Regions from separate parts of the Homo sapiens genome. Here all the other regions are linked to region 4. The links are contacts of gene promoters, found by promoter capture Hi-C in blood cells and fetal thymus (Javierre and others, 2016). All regions are on one chromosome and are shown on one strand. Each heading gives the region's core, a stretch centred on a gene start or on the middle of the fragment in contact. The rest is flanking DNA. Distances are from core to core; before and after follow the strand shown.

What was found. Contacts are between HindIII fragments. The CHiCAGO score rates a contact against its expected background, and 5 or more counts as called.
Region 1: a fragment that was not itself captured here is called in contact with the fragment with the promoter of PTAR1 in region 4 in 2 of 17 cell types (total CD8 T cells and fetal thymus); the score reaches 8.3 in total CD8 T cells.
Region 2: a fragment that was not itself captured here is called in contact with the fragment with the promoter of PTAR1 in region 4 in 1 of 17 cell types (naive CD8 T cells); the score reaches 5.5 in naive CD8 T cells.
Region 3: a fragment that was not itself captured here is called in contact with the fragment with the promoter of PTAR1 in region 4 in 2 of 17 cell types (total CD8 T cells and total B cells); the score reaches 5.6 in total CD8 T cells.
Region 5: a contact is called between a fragment that was not itself captured here and the fragment with the promoter of PTAR1 in region 4, in 3 of 17 cell types (total CD8 T cells, naive CD8 T cells and non-activated CD4 T cells). The highest score is 6.4, in total CD8 T cells.
Region 6: a contact is called between a fragment that was not itself captured here and the fragment with the promoter of PTAR1 in region 4, in 1 of 17 cell types (total CD8 T cells). The highest score is 6.4, in total CD8 T cells.

The regions. Positions count from the first base shown.
Region 1 is chr9:68,783,207-68,786,694 of GRCh38, reverse strand. The region is part of intron 2 of PIP5K1B (phosphatidylinositol-4-phosphate 5-kinase type 1 beta); the gene reads right to left. It overlaps PABIR1 (PP2A Aalpha (PPP2R1A) and B55A (PPP2R2A) interacting phosphatase regulator 1), which reads right to left. Exons shown (of 1, transcript NM_138333.5): 1 at 1,129-3,488. Among named protein-coding and RNA genes, the nearest start is that of PABIR1, 4.9 kb to the right of the region's middle. The HindIII fragment of the contact is 905 bases long and covers 1,703-2,607 here.
Region 2 is chr9:70,391,717-70,395,129 of GRCh38, reverse strand. All of the region lies in intron 1 of KLF9 (KLF transcription factor 9), which reads left to right. It overlaps LOC124900273 (a long non-coding RNA gene), which reads left to right. Exons shown (of 2, transcript XR_007061576.1): 2 at 1-2,073. Among named protein-coding and RNA genes, the nearest start is that of KLF9-DT, 21 kb to the left of the region's middle. The HindIII fragment of the contact is 205 bases long and covers 1,510-1,714 here.
Region 3 is chr9:70,418,767-70,422,077 of GRCh38, reverse strand. All of the region lies in intron 1 of KLF9-DT (KLF9 divergent transcript), which reads right to left. Among named protein-coding and RNA genes, the nearest start is that of KLF9, 5.8 kb to the right of the region's middle. RefSeq lists silencers at 1,635-1,724, 2,655-2,704, 2,805-3,114 and an enhancer at 2,552-3,273. The HindIII fragment of the contact is 2,727 bases long and covers 585-3,311 here.
Region 4 is chr9:69,758,137-69,761,439 of GRCh38, reverse strand. PTAR1 (protein prenyltransferase alpha subunit repeat containing 1) reads left to right here and starts at 1,429. Exons shown (of 8, transcript NM_001099666.2): 1 at 1,429-1,587. The coding sequence starts at 1,502. It overlaps LOC105376076 (a long non-coding RNA gene), which reads right to left and starts at 1,345. Exons shown (of 4, transcript XR_929910.3): 1 at 967-1,345. RefSeq lists enhancers at 1-407, 1,882-1,931 and a silencer at 1,272-1,741. The HindIII fragment of the contact is 9,606 bases long and covers 1-2,167 here.
Region 5 is chr9:69,041,122-69,044,250 of GRCh38, reverse strand. All of the region lies in intron 1 of FXN (frataxin), which reads right to left. Among named protein-coding and RNA genes, the nearest start is that of FXN, 6.9 kb to the right of the region's middle. The HindIII fragment of the contact is 1,079 bases long and covers 885-1,963 here.
Region 6 is chr9:68,766,190-68,769,457 of GRCh38, reverse strand. All of the region lies in intron 2 of PIP5K1B (phosphatidylinositol-4-phosphate 5-kinase type 1 beta), which reads right to left. Among named protein-coding and RNA genes, the nearest start is that of PABIR1, 12 kb to the left of the region's middle. The HindIII fragment of the contact is 1,030 bases long and covers 747-1,776 here.

The DNA.
Region 1 (3,488 bases), core at 906-3,405, 980 kb after region 4:
ATAAAGCTGTGGAACCATGATTTCCTTCTATACACTTTAATTTCTTGCCTATTACTAAAAAAAAAACTTCCTGGTATGTTCCTTTAATATAATACTGTTTTAAGGAATGATTACCTATCATTTGATTCAAAACAGAAGTAGCAGCACTAGTAAAATAAAGCAAGTTGCTAAAGTTAGCTGGGAAATGGTCTTCAAGTTAATAATAAAAAAAAGTTTATAATAATAATAATAAAAAAACCAAAAGGGCCTAAATTCAAAAGGAAAAAAAATAGACAGTAATAGGGACTTGAGAAAATGGCCTTGGTTTTCTCATCTCTTCAATGGGAATCCATAGCACCTGCCTCACAGGGTTGTCATGAGGATTTTAAACACTCATAAATGTAAAGCACTAAAAATAGTGTCTGGACCCATAGTGAATGCTCAAGAAATATTAACACATCATTATTATTATTACTGGCAAAAACTCACGTTATCAGGCCATTTATCACTTCCTACCCAGGAAGGCAAATGGTCATAAGGGAATCACAATCTGGTGAAAATCTTGGCTGCCACGCAATGATAGCCTTATTTCACAGACAGCATACTGAAGACACAGCTCAAGATTTCTAAAATCTGGAAGGAAGAAGTAGTCATTAGAGAAGGATCAGTATTTCTGATTTCTAGAAGGGGGCTATCACCTATAAAAAGAAGAATAAGGCTTGTTTTGCATTTGCCAAAGGTGGACTTGAATTGAATGGTGGAAGTTAGAGGGAAATGTCTGTTCACTATAAGAAAGGCTAACATCAGAAACAATCGCTTCATAAAAGGATAGCCTGCTTTGAAGGATATTGTACTGTTAACTGAGTGTGAAAGCAGGAGTTTCATCCATCAAGGATGCTAATTGCCCAGCATCTTTGTAAGCACATTGTGTACGAACCCATTCAATCCTCACCACAGCCACCCTGCTCCACTGTCTATATTCCTAACCACCACAATTCGCTGCCTACCTCCCAGCTCTGGAATCCTGGGCAAGTAACTCAACCTGTGTCTCCATTTCCTCATTTATAAAATGAGGATAATGATAGCACTTGCCTCAGATGATAGTGATAGATTAAATGCATTGATATATTTGCTTAGCACTTAGAACAGTCCCTGACACATAGCAAGTATTTTATTACTTTTTATACAAAGGTCATTTCAACTTTTAAGAAAATTTTTTTACTTGGATGGCAAGTTACAGAAGCCACAAAGAACTCTGTCTTGGCTACAGTGAGCAATCTGACACAATTTTTTACCAAGTAAGTGGCACTCAAGGCTTGCCTTCAGCCCTGATTCTCTAACAGCCATGAAAAATGTGGGCAAAACTGCTGGAGTGAGAGACCTACATTGAGACCAGATTCTCTATACTTTGTCATGGCTGATAAGGTAAAGCCCTGAAAAAAGTGGTCTAGTCCATAAGCCTCTGCTCCCTTCTCTTATCCTCAATGCCTCAGCCAATCATTCAAACTACACTTTCAGCAGAACCCTTAACTACTTCACACACTGGGCTTTACCTAGTACCCACTTAACCAATTCCCAAACCTAGTCAATCCAACCCACTTCCTTGTGCCTGCCATCCAACTGCAACCTGGCATCCATCATAGCCTAATAAGCCTTCTACTTGTCCTTAACTTACTCCTTTAGATTCTCAGAGGCAACATTAAACCTTTACTGCACTCAAGCTTCCAAATGATCTCCTGTCCCTATCCTCATGTATCTTAGATTCCTCAATAATTGGAAAATAGGCACAATCAGAAACAAATTCTACTTTTCATATACCTACCTCCATACTCCTAAACCCCTGCAACAACAAATCAATTCAACATTTATGGATATCTTTGCCTAGCCTTTTCACTCTCCCTCCTGTTTCAGAAGAAAAATAAGTTTCCAGACCTCCTTTCCAAGGCCAACTCTTTCTTCTGTTCTCTGGTGCTACTCAAGAAATGATCATCATCTTCTTGGTTCAATTGTCTGGCAACCATTCCCCTGACTCCCACCTCTGTTAGATCTTCAAAATTGTTCTACTAATCTATAAACACACCCTGAAAAAAAATGTTCTCAGACTCACTTTCCTCATTTAAGTCTTGATTCCTTCCCCAATTTTATTGCCAAATAAACTGGTCTCTTGCTACAGGTATGTAACTGGTTGAACTAATAAATGTGAATCACTGGAAGGCAATCTGATACAAGTTATTCTTGATTACAATCAATCTTTTAAGTATGCTTAAGGGTCCTAACATCCAGCAGCCTTGGAGTTAATGATCTTTAATGATTTCTCCCATTTATACTGTGTTTTTAACAAGCATAATAAAGGAAAATATACCAGAGGTTTATTAAGTATGACAAACTGTACTTTAAATAAATGTTGCTATTGACTTTAGGACTTCTTGCACAAAGTTTATAGATTAGCAATACTAATACCTTAAAAATGCTTTTTGAAGGATAATTCTTACACGAGCTAAGTAAGCCCTTACAGTCTACAGAATAATGATGGACGTTATGAACAATACTATGATAACGTAAATTGTCCACATGCCCTTAGAACCTTATCTGATTTAAAAACTTCCCATCTATATAGAAGAATAAGCTTACAGAAATAATGTTTCCATACCTTCGGGGAAAAGGATCTAAAATAGGAGAGAACATGATGTATTTAAGGAAAAGAAAGGCAAGCCAGTGAGGGCGAAGCACAGAAAACGAGGGGGGAGGAGGGAAGGACCAAATTCCTCAGGGCCTCCTAGCCCAGAATTAATACATTTTGGCATACTCATGAGAACAGGAAGCAAATGAAAAGCGTTCAGCTGGGAGATGGAAGGATCAGGTCCGCAATTTTAAAAGAATGACTCTAGTTGCTGTATGGAGAATGAATGGATAGCCGACCAGAGTGAGTGTGAGGAGCACAAGTGGGAGTTAGGAAGTTGCTTCAGAAGCCTAAGAGGGAAATGCTGGTAGCCTGGATCAGAGTGGCAATAGAGGTAGAAATAAGGAGATAGATTCTAGCTGATAAAAATCAGTAAGACTTGAGGAATGATTAGATATGGGGAAAAGTAAAGAAGAGAGGTGTCAATGACATGTTGGTTTCCTGCATTTATATACATATATACATGGAAATGCCAGTAACACATCTTGTACAATAGATATCAAGTTGTTAACAGAAGTTATCTGTGGAAAGGGAAGATGAATTTTACATAATTAAAAGCAGACTTTTAAAACCACACAGATATGTACAATGTTTAAATATTTTACAATCAGCAGGTATACATTGCCTTCATACTTAAACTCACGTGCAATTTGCCTCCCTGAAAAGGATAGGAATTATCCCAAAGAACAGACACAAGAAAAGTACATGACATATTTAAAGAATATCAAGTGGTCTAATGTTTGCAGAATAAGAAGGAAAGATGTATACTGGAACAGAGATGAGGAGAGGATTGAAGCTATTTCAGAATATGGCCAGATCATAAAGGTCC
Region 2 (3,413 bases), core at 363-2,862, 630 kb before region 4:
TTTCCTGTGCTGCTATCTCACTATCTTAATTATTACAGCTTTAATAATCCATTTTAATAACTAGTATTGCAAGTGCTCACTTATTATTTGTTCTTCCGCAAAATTTTCTTGGCAAGTTGGGCATGTTTATTCTTCCAAATGAACTTCAGAAATAACTTTGTCAAGTTCTAGAAAAAGAAATTCTTACGGTGTGTGTTAATTCCGTAGATGAATTTGTACAGAATTGCCATATTCACACCATTGAGCCTTACCATCCAAAGGCATGGCAAGCATTTTGTTTGTTCATTTTCTTTTATATTGAGGCTTTATGCATTTCTTCACCAAGGTCCTGAACTTTTATTGTTAGGCTTATTCTGACTGGTTATGGCTGGCATATAAGAAAGCCAGTGCTCTTTTGTACAGTTACATCTGTGAATGCACCTTTAATTTAGATTAGATTTTTCAGTTATCTTGAATTTTTTCAAAGAGAAAGTTGTGTCAACTGCAAATAATTCTTATTTTATAACCCCCCCTTCTTCTCACCATTTACTTCTTATTTTATCTAATTGCACTCATTAGTATTTCCTGGAAAATGTTAAATTATAGCAATGGGAGCGGGTGTCCATTTATGCTTTGGGCTAGACTTTAGTAGTTATACTACCTTTATTTTACTGTTGACCTTGCAGAGGAAAGGTTTCAGAGCTGATCTTTTATACTGCTGAGGAATTATTTTATTTTCCTGAAAGCTTTTATTAGGGATGGTTGTTCAATTTTATCATATACTATTTTGTACACGATAAGAGTGTGTATATGATATTAAATGATACTAAATGTGTGTGTGTGTGTGTGTGTATGAGCTGTTAAATGGGGGAATAATATCAGTATGATTTAATAATATCAAATTGTCCTTTTTAAAATTACATTTCTTTTGTAGAGTTGGGGTGTTACTGTGTTGCCCAGATTGGTTTTGATCTCCTGGGCTCAAGCAGTCCTCCCATCTCAGCCTCCCAAAGTGCTGGGATTACAGGCGTGAGCTACCACAGCCAGCCCAAATTCTTCTTTTATCTATGGAATCCTAGTGCTGTTTTTGCAATCAGAAACCACTCTTTTTTTTTTTTTTTTTTTTGAGACAGGGTCTCAGTCTCACTCTCACCCAGGCTGCAGTGCAGTGGCACAATCATAGCTCACTGCAGCCTCAACCTTTGGGCTCAAGCAATCTTCCCGCCTCAGCCTCCCAAGTATCTGGGACCACAGGCAAGCACCACTACGCCTGGCTAATTTGTTGTATTTTTGGTAGAGATGGGGTTTCACCACATTGCCCAGGCTGGTCTTGAACTTCTGTGTTCAAGTGATCCATCTTGAGCGGCTGAGCATTATTTTTCTTCTAGAAGAAGTCTTGATTTTCTACATCTGCAAGAAACTTTAATTCTTAATTGGCACTGTTTGAGCTCTGTTCTGAAAAGGAGGCCTAAATCCCTTAGATTTGTTTTTTACCAGATTGGTTTACTTTTGCTAGATGCAATGGAAGCTTTTGATTTTGTATTTTTGACTTTCCTGTCTCCATTAAAGTTAGACCCATCCCTGGACTTGGGTGGGGCAGGGAAGATGAGAAGAACCAGGTAGGAAAGAGACGACATTCAGATGGCAGGCCTCCCTGACCCCAGGCAGGACTTCAGTGGCAGCCTGGACAGCTCAGGGAGTCTGGGGAGGGTTGCCTATGTCCAGTGAGCAAGCTTGGCACTTGGCAAGTACCCGGTCTCTGTCTTCTCTATGGAGAACTCACCTCCATTCGTTTCAGGACTGCCCACAAAAAAATGGGCTTCATTTGGCATCATCAACTAATCAGCAGTCGAGGAGGCTCCCTCTCAAAAGCAGCAAGTGTCCTTTTGTGCTAAGTAGGCAAGCACATAGCCAGGGGGCCCCAGTCCACTGTTCTTGCACCCTCCGTAGGCCCAGGAGAATTCTGGAGGCCTGATGACTGTCTCTGCAAAGGAAGTCTTTTACACATTGTGCGCAGTGTTCAGTAGCTTTTTTGATCACATTTATTTTATACTCTGAGCTGAGTCAGTCAGCAAGAGGTGCTTAGCTTGTTACTGAAAGGGGCGGGGAGTGGTATATAAATAATGAGAACTCAGAGAAACTTGTGCTGTTAACAGCTCTGCTCCAGTAAAGTGGAGTTTATTGTGTCACTGCCTCTGGGTGTGTTTTCCTGTGAAGGCCAGAAATAATGCAGTGGTACAAGTGTGTTGGGTATTTTTTTCCCTATCCCCAGGAGGATGGTAACTCTCTCATTAATACTAAAGACAGGTTTAAAGATTCTCTAATTGATAGTTGCATTGCTGTGTGATTTGTTCAGCGTGAAGGCTGACCATTCTCCTTTAGACCTTAGCACCGAGCCTCAAAGAGAGGGCCTGACTTGGTTTCCCCCAGGCTGCCAGACGAAGGTGGAGTGACCGTCTCTCTAGGCCAGTCCTCTCCTCCTCTGTAGATCATCTCTGGTCCCATTCAGCCTTAATTCTGTTCTCGTCTACATGTGACTTCCCCATTCCATGCTTTCTTAAGTGCAAAACATCTATCATTTTCTAAATAATACCTTATTATATGACTGTCATTAACTTATATGCTGGGATGTTAGATTCAACATCATGGCATGTTAGATCCAAACTCTCCACTGTATTAAAAAGGTGGGAGATTTTTCAAAGGGCTACAAATTGTAGGTCCCTAAGCAGAATCCAGCCTGCGTACACACCACTGGGTGGCACCATAATTTATAATGTTGAAATTGAATGCCTCTAAGTAGGGGAAGCACCCTGTTCAGTTCACCATGGAATCCATTATGATCCATGATTGAATGCACCTGCTCCCACCCTGTCCCCGACCTGTGTCTGGCTCCTGAAGACATTTGAATTTACAAATTCTGGTGGCCAGTTAGAAGTTCAAGTCCTCTGTTATTTGTTTATTTACTTGAGACAGGGTCTCACTCTGTTGCCCAGACTGGAGTGCAGTGGCGTGATCTTGGCTCACCACAACCTCCGCCCCTCGGGTTCAAGCGATTCTCATGCCTCATCCCCAGTAGCTGGGATTATAGGTGTGCAACGCCACACCCAGCTTCAAGTCTTTTGATTGAGATCAGGAATCAACCAACTTTTTGCAAAAGGTCCTGATAGTAAATATTTTCAGCTTTGCAGGCTGTACAGTCTCTGTGGGCAACTGCTCAACACTGCTGTTTTGAGAATGCAGCTGTAGATAATACTTAAACCAATGAGCATGGCTGTTTCCAATAAAACTATATGCAGACAAGGAAATTTTAATTTCATATAACTTTCTCCTGTCATGAAATATTCTTTTAATTTTTTTCAACCACTTGGTAAAAACCGAATATAAGAATGGTATAAGCTATTCTTAGCTCATGGCAGGCCAGATTTGGCCAGTGG
Region 3 (3,311 bases), core at 699-3,198, 660 kb before region 4:
TGCTAGAATCTTCGGGGAATGAGGGGGAGTGCAGGAGAGCCTGCAGATGACAGCCACAAAGCGGAGGTGGTATAGTCTGATGGCAGGTACTTCAAAGCAGCTGGGGTGGAGGGGGAAGAAAGAAGAGTCTATCTTGGTGAATAATTCTCCTGCCAAGGGTTTGTTCTGAATTCCACTCTCTAGTATCTCACCAAGCTTCCTTCCCTCTTTTGGCAGCTGAGAGGCCATCCAGGGTAAGGATTTTTTCAGGGTCGTGGGGTCAGAAGGAAACCAGCAAACAGTCAGGACTTTTATTCCCTCTTCTCTGCTACCAAAATACCAAGGCAGTGTTTTGGGTATTTAAAAGAACATTTTAAATGTCCTTGTTTGTTTCTGCCTCTGTGCAACATTGTGCTGGGAAGGACAGGGAGCTGGTAACCATGGCAGTGGAGCAGAGGGTGGTGGTGAAGAGGTGGTTTTTAAATGGGGTGAACTTCAGGCAGGCGGCACCCAGAGCTGGAACCCCCACGGCCTCCTTGGAGTCCTTTGTTCATTCAGCTTACTTAGGGAGAGAGCCTGCATTCTTCCCCGCTGTGAAGCAAGCTTTGAAAGGAAAGGTTTTGCCAGACTCCATAAGGAGAGGGTGTGTCCCTAGGAGCAGGTTTTGGGGTTCTGCCTGAAAACCTTGGTCGGCAGAGAATTTTGGGCACCCTGTTACGAACAGGACAGTCTGTGATGGCAAAGAAGCCAGCTCTGCAGCATCCTGGATGCAGAGTTCTTACACACCGTTAGCTGTCTCACCACTTCTCCCTGGACAGGTGGCCACTCGTGGGGGTGGCCCAGAATCCTGGCCAAAAAAGACAGCCAGGCAGGGCCCCCACAGGAAGGTAGCTGGCAGGGGAGTCAGGAGGAGAGGAAGGGGGAGGGAAGCAGTCACCTCTTCCACGTTCCTGGATAGGGAGCCTTAAGACCCTTTTCAGGACAAATAAGTGCCCCCCAAAAAGCGGACACAGGGCAAGGCAGGACAGGACAGGGCAAACCTGGGGCACAGCTCGGGGCCAGGGAAGTCCCATGACTGCAGTGTTCAGCTGCAGGTTTCCCAGCTGCTCTGGGCGGGAAGCGGCGCCGGGAGATGGGGGCGGGGAGAAGGGAGGGGAAAAGAGGAGGAGGGAAGTAAACAGGAGACCACAGAGAGAGCCAGTTCCCGGCGTTCAGAGAACACTAGCCGCCTCCGGTCCCCGGTGGGTGGCTGTATGTGTGGAAATGAAACTGGGAGGAGGAGGGAGAGAGGGAAGAGCGGGCACGCACTTCTCGGCTGTCATCCACCTTGCCTCTTCCGACCCTCCAGCCCGCTCCCCACCGGGGTAGGGGGTTGGGGGAGGTGGGAGGAAAACAGTTCAGCAAACGCCCACCTCCAAGTACCAGTAGCTGGTTCAGCTGTCGGTGAATCAGACACTGTCTCAGCAGCTTGTCACCTGCGCTTGGGAGGGGAACAGAGGGCAACCTTGGAACTTGGGAGGGGGAGGTTGGGAAAGTGCAGGATCCAGCACTGGGCCTGGGCCTGGGCGTAGGGGTGACGCCTACGGCTCGGAAAAGGGCTATCCACCTCCCTACACCTACACACGTCTCGACCCAGTACCCGGACGCCGAGTAGAGGGGGTGGGACAAGAGCATGGGGGCCGTACAGAAGGGGGAACTGGAAGAAGGGGAGGGGAGAATGGGTTGGGGGTGTGCTGCGGCGGGAAGCGCTGGGTGCCGGGCGGGCGCGGCCGCGGGGAGAGCTGCTGCCCGGTGCCTGCCCGCGCGAGGTTATGCGAGGTAACCGAGCGGAGAGGAGGAGGGAGGCGGCGGGGGCCGCGGGCCGGGGTGTCTGGCACTCGTTGGACAAAGAGATGATGAAACGTGAGCGCTATATTTACCAAGGGGGTGGAGACGGGGCGGGGGGGGCGGAGAGTAAAAAGGACAAACTGTTCCACAACAACCACAGGAAACACAGCCCATTCTGACTCACTGGGAGGGCCACACCGAACCCCTCGCAGGCTTAGCCTGAAGGCAGACGCGGGGCGCAGGTGCTCCCGGGACCGGACCGAACCTGGGCTGGGGCTGGATTGATTTATAAATAAAGGCACATTCGATCCAAGAGTGCGTGTGTGCGTGCGTGTGGTTCTTGTGGGGTAGGGGAGAGCACGGAATGGCAGGAATGTTTCCTAACCCCTTGGCCGGGCCATCGCGGGAGAGATCTGCCGGCAAACTCTGGGAGCGCAATTCCTGCAAAGTCATCTCCTCCCGCACAGCCTGGCCGGCCTGCCCGCCACGCCCCGCCCGGGGACAGCAGCACCCGCCTCCCCCACTCCCTCCCCACCCCCGCAGCCCATGGAGTTGGGGTGCGGTGCTTGCTATGTTTAGAAGCTGATGTCATCTCGACACCCTACTCTGCAGTGTTCCTAGGAGGACCGCAGGGCAGGTTTTCCTCTTCCTCGCGGGCGTGGGGGATGGAAGGTGGCCAAGGTGCCCTGCCCTCTCCCCAACACAGGAACCCCACACCCATCTACCCGGGAGATTAAAAGAAAAAAAAATGCAACACCGCCAGAGTTATGAAACAGGGTGGCGGGGGCGGTACGTGCACGCGGAGAGCGCAAAGCAAGGGCCTGGGCCGCGCGGGGCTCCCCCCCGGTCCCCGCCCACTCCCACCCCCGCGCTCCCGGGTGCAGGGGCTAATTTCAAGGTTAGCTCACGTGGGCGTGGGCGCCCGGAGCTCCTTGCACGAGTTTGGGGCGGGTTCCTGGTCCCCCAATCTAGGGCAGTTTGTTCAACTGCAGTAAAGGGAGCTTGATGTTCCAGCAGGGAAGGGATTTCTGAGAACTGGGACTGTCCTCAGATGAACTCGCCTCCTCAGGCTGCTGCGGCGGCGGCCGCCTGCGGAAGACTTTTTAAAAGGGCGATGCCAGGCCGGGGCGCGCGGTCCACGAGTGGCTGAGTCGCCCGCCAGTCCGCGGCCGGAGCCGAGCGCCCGCCCCCGAGCGCGGGTGATTCACCGAGTGCCGCGCTGGGCCGGTCGGAGCGCGGGGGGCTGCGAGCTAAACTTATCCTCCTGCATATGCATGAACGGGCGGCCTTTCTGCGCTGCAGAGGAGAGGGCTGGAGTTTTGCGGAAGGCTGCTAAGTGGGGCGGGAGCAAAGTAGGGCGGCGTGCAAGTTTTCGCGCTTGCCTGAGCGCCCTTCCCCCTCCAGCCCCTGGGTGTTAGCTGTCATTATGGCCACGGGCGTTCCACCAGATCGGGCTTTACCTGATTGTATTTCAAAATCCAGGAACATCGCCATTGTTGGAAGCT
Region 4 (3,303 bases), core at 180-2,679:
TTTTTTTTTTTTTGAGACAGAGTCTCGCTCTGTCGCCCAGGCCGGACTGCGGACTGCAGTGGCGCAATCTCGGCTCACTGCAAGCTCCGCTTCCCGGGTTCACGCCATTCTCCTGCCTCAGCCTCCCGAGTAGCTGGGACTACAGGCGCCCGCCACCGCGCCCAGCTAATTTTTTGTATTTTTAGTAGAGACGGGGTTTCACCTTGTTAGCCAGGATGGTCTCGATCTCCTGACCTCATGATCCACCCGCCTCGGCCTCCCAAGGTGCTGGGATTACAGGCGTGAGCCACCGCGCCCGGCCTTTTTTTAAAGACGGAGTCTCGCTCTGTCGCCCAGGCTGGAGTGCAGTGGGGAGTAGCTGGGATTACAGGCGCCCGCCACCACGCCCGGCTTTTTTTTTTTTTTTTTTTTTTTTGTATTTTTAGTAGAGACGGGGTTTCACCGTGTTAGCCAGGATGGTCTCGATCTCCTGACCTTGTGATCCGCCCGCCTTGGCCCCCCAAAGTGCTGGGATTACAGGCGTGAGCCACCGCACCTGGCCAGATTTCAAGGGTGGAAGAATAAAACTGAACCAAGGGCAGCCAGATTTTTCTACCAGAGGTGCAAAAGAAAACCTGATACACAAAAATTTTAGTTATGGCATTTCAAAATCCTAAATAAACTAGAAAGCTCGTTTTTCCTACAAAAATTTATTTTTGCTATTATGAACAAACCCTGTCAGAGCCTTGATCCTTTTTTTTAAATTCCAAAATTGACGCAAAGGCTACCAAATGCAGTACAAAATGAAGTCGAAAAATCTAAAAACGATTTCACTTCTACTTCCTACATACAGATGGCAAATAACTTTTCCTTCACTTTCCTTTCTCTTCCTTTAATAAATTTAAGAATTTTAATTAATGTTTTTTAAAAAGGCTGCTTTCAAGTTCAGAGACAAAAATTGGCACAGTTAGAAAGGAGGTCACCAACACGGTCAAATAGGGACTCGCTCCGCCGCAATGCCTCTGGACCTCTTCATCTCTCAGGCTGGGAAAATAAAGCAGACAAGCTCTGAAAAACGCCCGGGACTAACTGTTAAGAGGCCCTGCATCCTCAGTTGAACATTCCTTCAGGAATGCCCGGGGACCTTGCTGGGGGGGTTCAGGAAGGTGTCTGACTCTCTGGGAGTGTGTCTTGAGGTTTCGCCTAAAACTTAAAATAAGAAAATCGGAGGCCTGAGAGAACTTTGCAAACAAATGTCCAGCATCTTCTCTGACGCTTAGAAAGTCCGTTACCCGCGCGGAGGCGAACTTCTCCACTCACTGGAAGGCCACCAACCCTAGCTAACGCCACGCCCAGGCCGCCAACTGGCTGACCCGGAAGTGCTCGGCGGCGGCCGCGGCGGCGGGGACGCGGCCTAGCCGAAGCACCCGCGCGCGCGCGCGCGCGCTCGTTCTCCGCGGAACTCCCGCCGGCGGCCCGGCTCACGCGGAGGCGCGCCCGAACTGTCGCGGCCGCCGCCAACATGGCCGAGACCAGCGAGGAGGTGGCGGTGCTGGTGCAGCGGGTTGTGAAGGACATCACTAACGCCTTCAGGAGGAACCCACACATGTGAGTCGCGCGCCTCCGCCGCCTCCGAGGGTCGTCGGGAGCGGGCGGGGGCGGGGCCAAGCGTCCACCCGACCTCGGGCGGCGGGCGGACAGCGGGTCCTGGCCCACGAGCCCTTCTAGGGAGGAGGCAGAGCCGTGTCGGGCGGGACCGTTGTCGGCCGCCGCTGGCCCGGCTTTCCGCTACCGGGACGCGCTCGCGGTCGAGTCCCTAGAAGTGACCTCAAAAAATCAAAACGGAACTACTTTCTCTGTCCCTCCCCACCTTTTCATAGGAGTTCACGAAACTCCAGAGACGTCCCCCGTAGGTCGACATCCTTCCTGTGTTTAAGGTACTCGGGCGCACACAACGATGTGGGTCCGTGTATGCCTTGTAAACACAACTCTTGAGATTCATCCCGGACGTTGGCAAGAGGGGGTAACCGATCCTCTTACTTTTAATGAGCCTCAAACCCCTCAGTTTACTAACTAAAGGTGGTTTGAGGCTGCTTTTGACTTTAGCCTTACTTGCCACAAAATTGTAAAGTGACTCCGATAATACATTGTGTTTTGAAAGGTGAACAGAACATTCTCAAGAGAAGCTTCTGTGGGCGCAGTGTGGAGTCTGGGATAAAGCAAATGAAACCTTGATACTTTTTAGCATAAGCGGATTCATAGTTACAAGGAGCATGTTAACTCATTTTTATCCCAACACTGCTGCCCTCTTTAACGGGACACTGCAGAACTGACATATGTATCTCTTCCATTTTACTTGAAGTACTGTGGGAAGATACCGCAAGAGTCTACTTTTTGTAACACTTTGCTTTTATGTAACAAGTGAAAAGAAAGCTATTGAGAGAGAGAGAGAGATCTACATTATACAAAGGTGTAGGGAAGAAGCAACAATGTACCTCCTTTCCCATACCTCTTCCTCCTCAAAGAAAAGAAACATGGCATCCAGTTCTGCATTACTTTCATTTTAGCTAGTTGTTTTTGGAGTTTATTTTTTTTTTTTTTAGTTTATTATTTTTTATTATTATTTAATTTATTTTTATTTTATTCTTTAGACTGGAGCTCATGATTTTTTTTTTTAAGTATTCTAACCGGTTCAGCTTTTCTGCCTAAAAAAGTTGCCAAACGTGTATCTTACCAAAGTGTTCTTTTCCTCCAAGGTGATGATTGTAAAACAGTTAAGAAGCCGTTGGATGTTTTGCTCCCTTGTGGCACACAATTGGAGACGTGCAACTGTGCCACATTAAAAACAAAACACTGCTGGCCTCAAAACACACCTGCCACCTCTGACAGCATCCACTTCCCTCCCCCTTATGACTGCTGCCTTTTTCAAAATGAGAGTGTTTGGAATGATTTCCTGGCAGTATCCATAGTGGTTGCTGAGCCTTCTAAAGAATGCTTTGATGCCTTGCTGTATATCAGTCTTTCGATTTCTTTTTGAGAATGGGAGCCTTAGTGCAAGTAAGAGACGACCTCAAAAAAAAAAAAAGTTGGACAAATGAAGAGTGTATTTTCTCATCACTGGTATTTTTCTAGAAGAAATTACAGCAGAGATTAGAAATCTAATACAAAATGTCGTAATCATCTTATGTTCTCTTCTTTGAGGTAGACTAAAAGAGCATCATTATATTTGAAGAAACCAAGATTGAATGTTCATTGGCTTGGCAGTTTTTAACACAGTGCAGTTTGGAACATGTCCCAGTTCTTGTGGATCACATTTATGGAAAC
Region 5 (3,129 bases), core at 175-2,674, 720 kb after region 4:
CAATCCTGTGAGGGACGTACTCTTATTACAGTCCTTATTCTTGGTAGTTATGTGCTACAAAGTTGCCACAAACACTCAACGAGCAAATTATTTATAGGAGAAATACAAGGCTAGGTACCCTGTAAGCTGCTGGTCACAACATTGTTACCAATCGATCAATATATAACCTTATTTCTGTTTAAAGACACCTTATGTAATATATATAGTTGATTCATTAACACTGATCTTGGCTGGGCATGGTAGCTCACACCTGTAATCCCCGCACTTTGGGAGGCCAAGGTGGGAGGATTACTTGAGCTCAAGAGTTTGAGACCAACCTGGGCAACATAGAGAGACCTCATTTCAACTTGAAAAATAAAAAACATGAGGCCGGGCATTGTGGTTCGTGCCTATAATCTCTGCAGTTTGGGAGGCGGAGGCGGGTGGATCACCTGAGGTCAGGAGTTCAAGACTAGCCTGGCCAACATGGTGAAACCCCGCCTCTACTAAAAACACAAAAATTAGCAAGGCGTGATGACATGTGCCTGTAATCTGTGCTACTCAGGAGGCTGAGGCAGAAGAATTGCTTGAATCCGGGAGGTGGAGGTTGCAGTGAGCCAGGATCGCACCATTGCACTCCAGCCTGGGTGATGAGCAAAATTCCACCTAAAAAAATATCAAAAACATTATCTGGGTGTGGTGGGGTGTACCTGTAGTCCCAGCTACTCAGGAGGCCGAGGTGGGAGGATTGCTTGAGCCAGAGAGGTAGAGGCTGCAGTGAGCTATGATTACACCATTGCACTCCAGCAGCCTGGGCAACAGAGGGAGACCCTGTCTCAAACAACAACAACAACAAATTAATTGATCTCAGGACAACAGCACCTTAACTCATGCCTGACAAAGCTTCTCTAACACATGCATTTTCTCTGTAAGGAACATCACAGCCTCCTCGTGCTAAACTTTGCACTACACTTGGAGACAATTTTAACAGAGAAATAACCAAGAAAAAAGCATAAAAATCTGAAAAACATGGCACTAATCAGACTGTGAAAAGGACACAGTTTACACTATGACAGCTGAAATAAGAAGGCAGGGCAGCACTTTGTTGGACCTTGGCTGGGAACATGAGCCTGGAGGAGCTCACATTTTTTTGCCGCTCTGCACACATCTTTGAAACGACCCCAAAAGGCTAGGGGTACTGATTTTGGGGTAACAAATTTTAGCAAGTGAGCAAATTAACAAGTACAGACTCTTAACGAATGAGGATCAACTATAGTTGTGTTTTACAGATGAGGAAACTGACGCACCAAAGGGTAACTTGCCTACACAGATACACAGACATTAAGTGGCAGAGCTGGGATTGAACCCAAGCTGTCTGGCCCCAGAGTCTGTGCACAGTGGAAGGAATTGTTTTCCCAGGAATTAAAGCAGTGCTCAAAACATCCAAGGAAAAGTGTCTGAGAATGTGGGGCTCACCTCAGGGAAGTTTCCATCTCTCCAGGATCCTGGCCCCTCAAACCTTAGTTGTCTTAGTCGCTGATACCTTCACAATAGCTGTTTTTGTTTGTGTGTGTGTGTGTTTAATTTAATAGAGATTTGATGGTTGTTACTGGTGGGAAGGTCAAATGCAGTTACTCCTTCAAAGGCACAAGTAGAAGTCTTTCTTCGGCTGTTTTTAATCATAAAAAAGAACCGTTGCCAAATACTCCTTGCTTTATATTCTACCTGCTTTTGCCAATTTAATATTCCTCGGGCAACTGCTAAACCTTTTGGAACCTCAGTTTACTCCTCTGAAGGAAGGGATCGTGGTACTCACAACAAACCTCACAACCGTGAGCATAAAACAAGAGAACAGAAATACCCCAAGTACAGAGCCTGAGGGTATTCAGGCTCTGAACAAAAGAATGGAGAACTAGGTGAGAGGCAAACTTCCGCCTCTGCCTAAGGGAGGCTCCATTCTGTTCTGCTTGAGGGAGGCAAAGCTTGGAGGTCAAGGTCATAGGATGAGTGTTCTTCCTTTTTTTTTTTTTTTCTGAGACGGAGTCTTGCTCTGTTGCCCAGGCTGGAATGCAGTGGCACAATCTAGGCTTATTGCAACCTCCGCCTCCCGGGTTCAAGTGATTCTCCTGCCTCAGCCTCCTGAGTAGCTGGGATTACAGGCGTGCACCTCCATGCCCAGCTAATTTTTGTGTTTTTAGGAGAGACAGGTTTCAGCATGTTGGTCAGGCTGGTCTCACTCCTGACCTCATGATCCACCCACCTTGGCCTCCCAAAGTGCTGGGATTACAGGCGTAAGCCACCGCACCTGGCCATGATGAGTGTTCTTTCTAAAGCCACCTGGCAGCCATGTCTCCCTCTAACTCCAGGTCACCCGTGAGCCCTTGGACCACAAGTCATGGTAGGCTTGCCTAGCTTGAGGCTTCAGATGTGTGTGCTCACTCACACAGTGCCTGCTCATGGGATGCATTTGAGGAAATATTAGATAGTTTCTGGGCCTGAAGTCTCAGGCCCAGTGGTCAGGAACCACTTGACCCAATCATTGCCTACCCCCTGGTAAGGACTGGCCTGGATGGCCAGCAGGGAGCCCAGCTTTCCTTCCCAGGTGTCCCCTTGTCACCCCCGGCCCTGTCAAACCACAGCACTTGAAGAGTGAATCAGGACCCATACCTCGCAGGGGAGGATGAACTGGCACCACCACTTTTGGCATCAAATGAGTTGATTATTGGCTGCCCCTTTGCCCAGCAATTCCATTCTGAGAAATTCACCTGAAAGGAACTTCTGTCCATGCACAAGAACAGTCACAGCAGCACCATCGTAACAACAGAACACTGCAATCAACCAAATGTCACCTAAAGGAACCTGGATAGTGTGATTTACAGTGTGATATATTTACCCAACCAGATACTATCCAGCAGTGAGAACAAATAAAGGACAACTGCATGCATCAATGCAGATGACGCACAAAAACAGTGTTGAACAAAAGGGGCAAGCCATAGCAGAACAGATACAGCAGAATACCTTGTATATAAGCAATACATGGATTGGGGGAGATACAGAGGAGGTCAAACTCTAAGAAAAGGAGGGTACGATGAACAGAATTCGGGCTGGCAGATTCCTCCAGGGAGGACAGGGCAGTGATGGGGTGAAGAC
Region 6 (3,268 bases), core at 12-2,511, 990 kb after region 4:
GCAAAAAGGAAGGGAAAATGCAATTAATGCTACTGCTTTTCGAATACCTAACAGATCTGACCATCAGATGTAGAATATAAGCTAGAAAAAAAAACACAGTATAAGTGACAGTGAAAACCTGTCCCATTTTTCCTACTTAATTTGCTCTTGGAAAATGTAAAATTGAAAGGCTCAATTAATCTTAATGATGTGTCACAGAACAGAAAGATTTCCCTGGGCTAAAAAGCATTCTGCACATGCCTCAGAATTCAAAAGAAAGAATGCATTGAGGAAGATGTAGACAATGGCCAGTTCCCCACAAAGATAGCCTCTCAATCTTCTTTTTCAATTTTTAAAATAATTTTTCAATTTAAAAAATAATACGGGGAAATAGGGATGCATTACTGGGAATAAACAAGTTGTACATTTACTGAGGCAAACACTTCATCATTTGTTCAAATGCTTCCGTGGCTTTTCCCAACAGGGCGACTACGACTAGCTAATTTTTAAAAGTACTGTTGTATGACCAAGAGTGGAGAAGGTTTGCCCAGTATCTTTACTTTATTATTAGCACCAGGGGTTTCTATTGAAATGCCTCCAAGGGCCAACAACAGATAGATAACTAATGGGTGACAGTACTGAGAGAATAGAGCATTTGCACTTAACAGACTGGAGAGACCCAGGCACCTAAAGGTGGCTGACAGCTACTGCTCAATTCCACCCAACAGCTGCCCTTGCAGAAAAGGATGCCATACATTGCCCAAGCTTCTAATTTTTTAATAGAGGTTAAAAATCTAGATTTTTAAAAATGTGGATGCTTACAATTTGTAGATGTTGAACTAAAAAACAAATTTAAAAGTTAAACATAGGGTAGACCTAATCAAAAGGTTCTAAAGGCTGTCTTAGGCTCTGAGGACAAGCTGTGACCTCTGACAACCCATTCTTCTCTCTCCTTACTTTACAGTCTATGCCTTCCTTCCCCAGGACTGTGAATTCCTCTTCTGCCCCTTGATGATCACTGCTCCATAAAGTCCTTTGTCATTTTTATGTATACCCAACTTCTGTCTCTGGCTACATGGTCTCTGAAAAAGGGCAGCCACTGTGTCTTGTAGGTAAAGTGTCCTGCAGCACTTAGTGTAGGGCCTGGGGTGTGTCACATACATATGAATGATGGTGGAAACTTCAAATCATGTATACATCCACTTTTTCCTTTTCTTCCCACTTCTCTTCCCACCGGCATAGTTATAACTAGCCATCCATCTTACTGATTTCTCTTGTTGTTTCCAATAATTTTTCAGTTGATTCTTTCTAGCTGTGCAATTGAAATATCTGCAAATAATGTTAACTTTGCAACTTCCTCCCCAATATTTATGTCTATTATTTCCTTATCTCCTGACTGGTACTTTCCGTGTACAGTTTATAATTTCAGTGAAAGTCAGCATTCTTATATATTTGATTTAAATGGGAATGCATTCTACTTATTTTACTAAGTTTTAATTTTTTTCTTTTTATTTGGGAATGTGTGTCAGTTTTTTTTGTTACTATAAACTTATAATTTTATTTATTCCTTTAAAAGTTCATTTTAGTGGCATATAATTTAGTGCAATAAAATTCACCCTTTTAAAGAATATAGTTCAGTTAGTTTTGACAAACTTAAACAGTCATGTAACCACTGCCCAAATTAATCTACTAGTGGATGTTGAATTTTAGTATTTTTGGCACCTATTAAGATGACCATACAGGTTTTTCTTTTTTCATCTAATATGTGGACTAGCTTCTCCATTATTGAGCCAAGCTTAAATTCTTGTGATGTACCTACTTGATCATGGTATTTATTTAATGCATTGCTAAATTATTTCTTTTTCTTTTTTTTTTTTTTTTTTTTAAGACAGAGTCTTGCTCTGTCACCCAGGCTGGAGTGCAGTGGCGCAGTCTCGGCTCACTGCAGCTTCCACCTCCCAGGTTCAAGCGATTCCCCTGCCTCAGCCTCCCGAATAGATGGGATTACAGGTGTGCACCACCACACCTGGCTAATTTTTGTATTTTTAGTAGAGACGCGGTTTCACCATGTTGGTCAGGCTGGTCTCGAACTCCTGACCTTAAGTGATCCACCCGCCTCGGCCTCCCAAAGTGCTGGGATTACAGGCGTGAGCCACAGCGCCCGGACTGCATTGCTAAATTCTATCTGATGGTATTTTATGAAAGGGTTTTGCATCAAGATTGATCTGCAGTGTGTGCACATACAGGCACATGCCCATGCCAGCTATCTTTGTGAAGTTTTGGTACTAAGATCATTTTGGTATCTTAAAAAATCTTGAAAGTCTGTCTTTTGCTCTATACTTAGAAAAAGTTGAAATAGTAATGTGACCATCTGTCAGGTTTACATGGGGCATTCTAGTTTATACTGGTTCTCTCAATTAAAGCTCCCTTCAATAAACTATATAGTTACCCTACTTAATATCAATATCCCTGACTATTTGAAGAATTTACTTGGGCTATCTGGGGGCCTGCACTTTGAATTTAGAAAGCATCTTTTGATAACATTTTTATTTCTTTCATGGTTACTGACTCTCTCCTGGGACCACTTTAATAAAGTAAATTTTCCTAGAAATACCACTTACTTCACCTATCTCCATAGTGTTTCATGTAGTACCTAACAATATTTTTTGGTTACTTCTCCTTTTTGATATCTGATATTGTTGATTTTTTACCTTTGTTTTGGTAATAAAGAGATATTTATTTATTGTAAAAAAATTTAAAATACAGACACATAGAAAAAAATAGTTGAAAATTACCCACAATCCCATCACCCAGAAACAATTACTTTTGACACTGTAATAAAAAGCATTCCAGATTTTTATCTGTGTACATACCTACCTATCTACATAATGCAATGTTTATTAACTTGCCCTTTCCATATTTGTTGTGAACACTTTTTCCATATCAGTAAATATAGACTTACATCTTCAATTTCAATGGCTGTGAAGTATGGCTATTCCATGACCTTCTTATACATATTTCTAATAGGGGATAAGCAGGTAGGTTAATTTTTTTCAACTATTTTTAACAGTGCTGCATTGAACATTATATAAGATCTTTGTACGTTCATTTTGTTGGACAGATTATTCAAAGTAGAAGTGCTAAATCAAAGATAGATACATTTATAACAATAGTTTTTGCTTATAAGAGATGTATTTATTTCATATATAAAAAAAGCAGCAAAAAACAAAGTAAAAGTTTCCTGCAATCCATTATCCAGTGGTAGCCTCTGTTAACATTTTGTTATAGA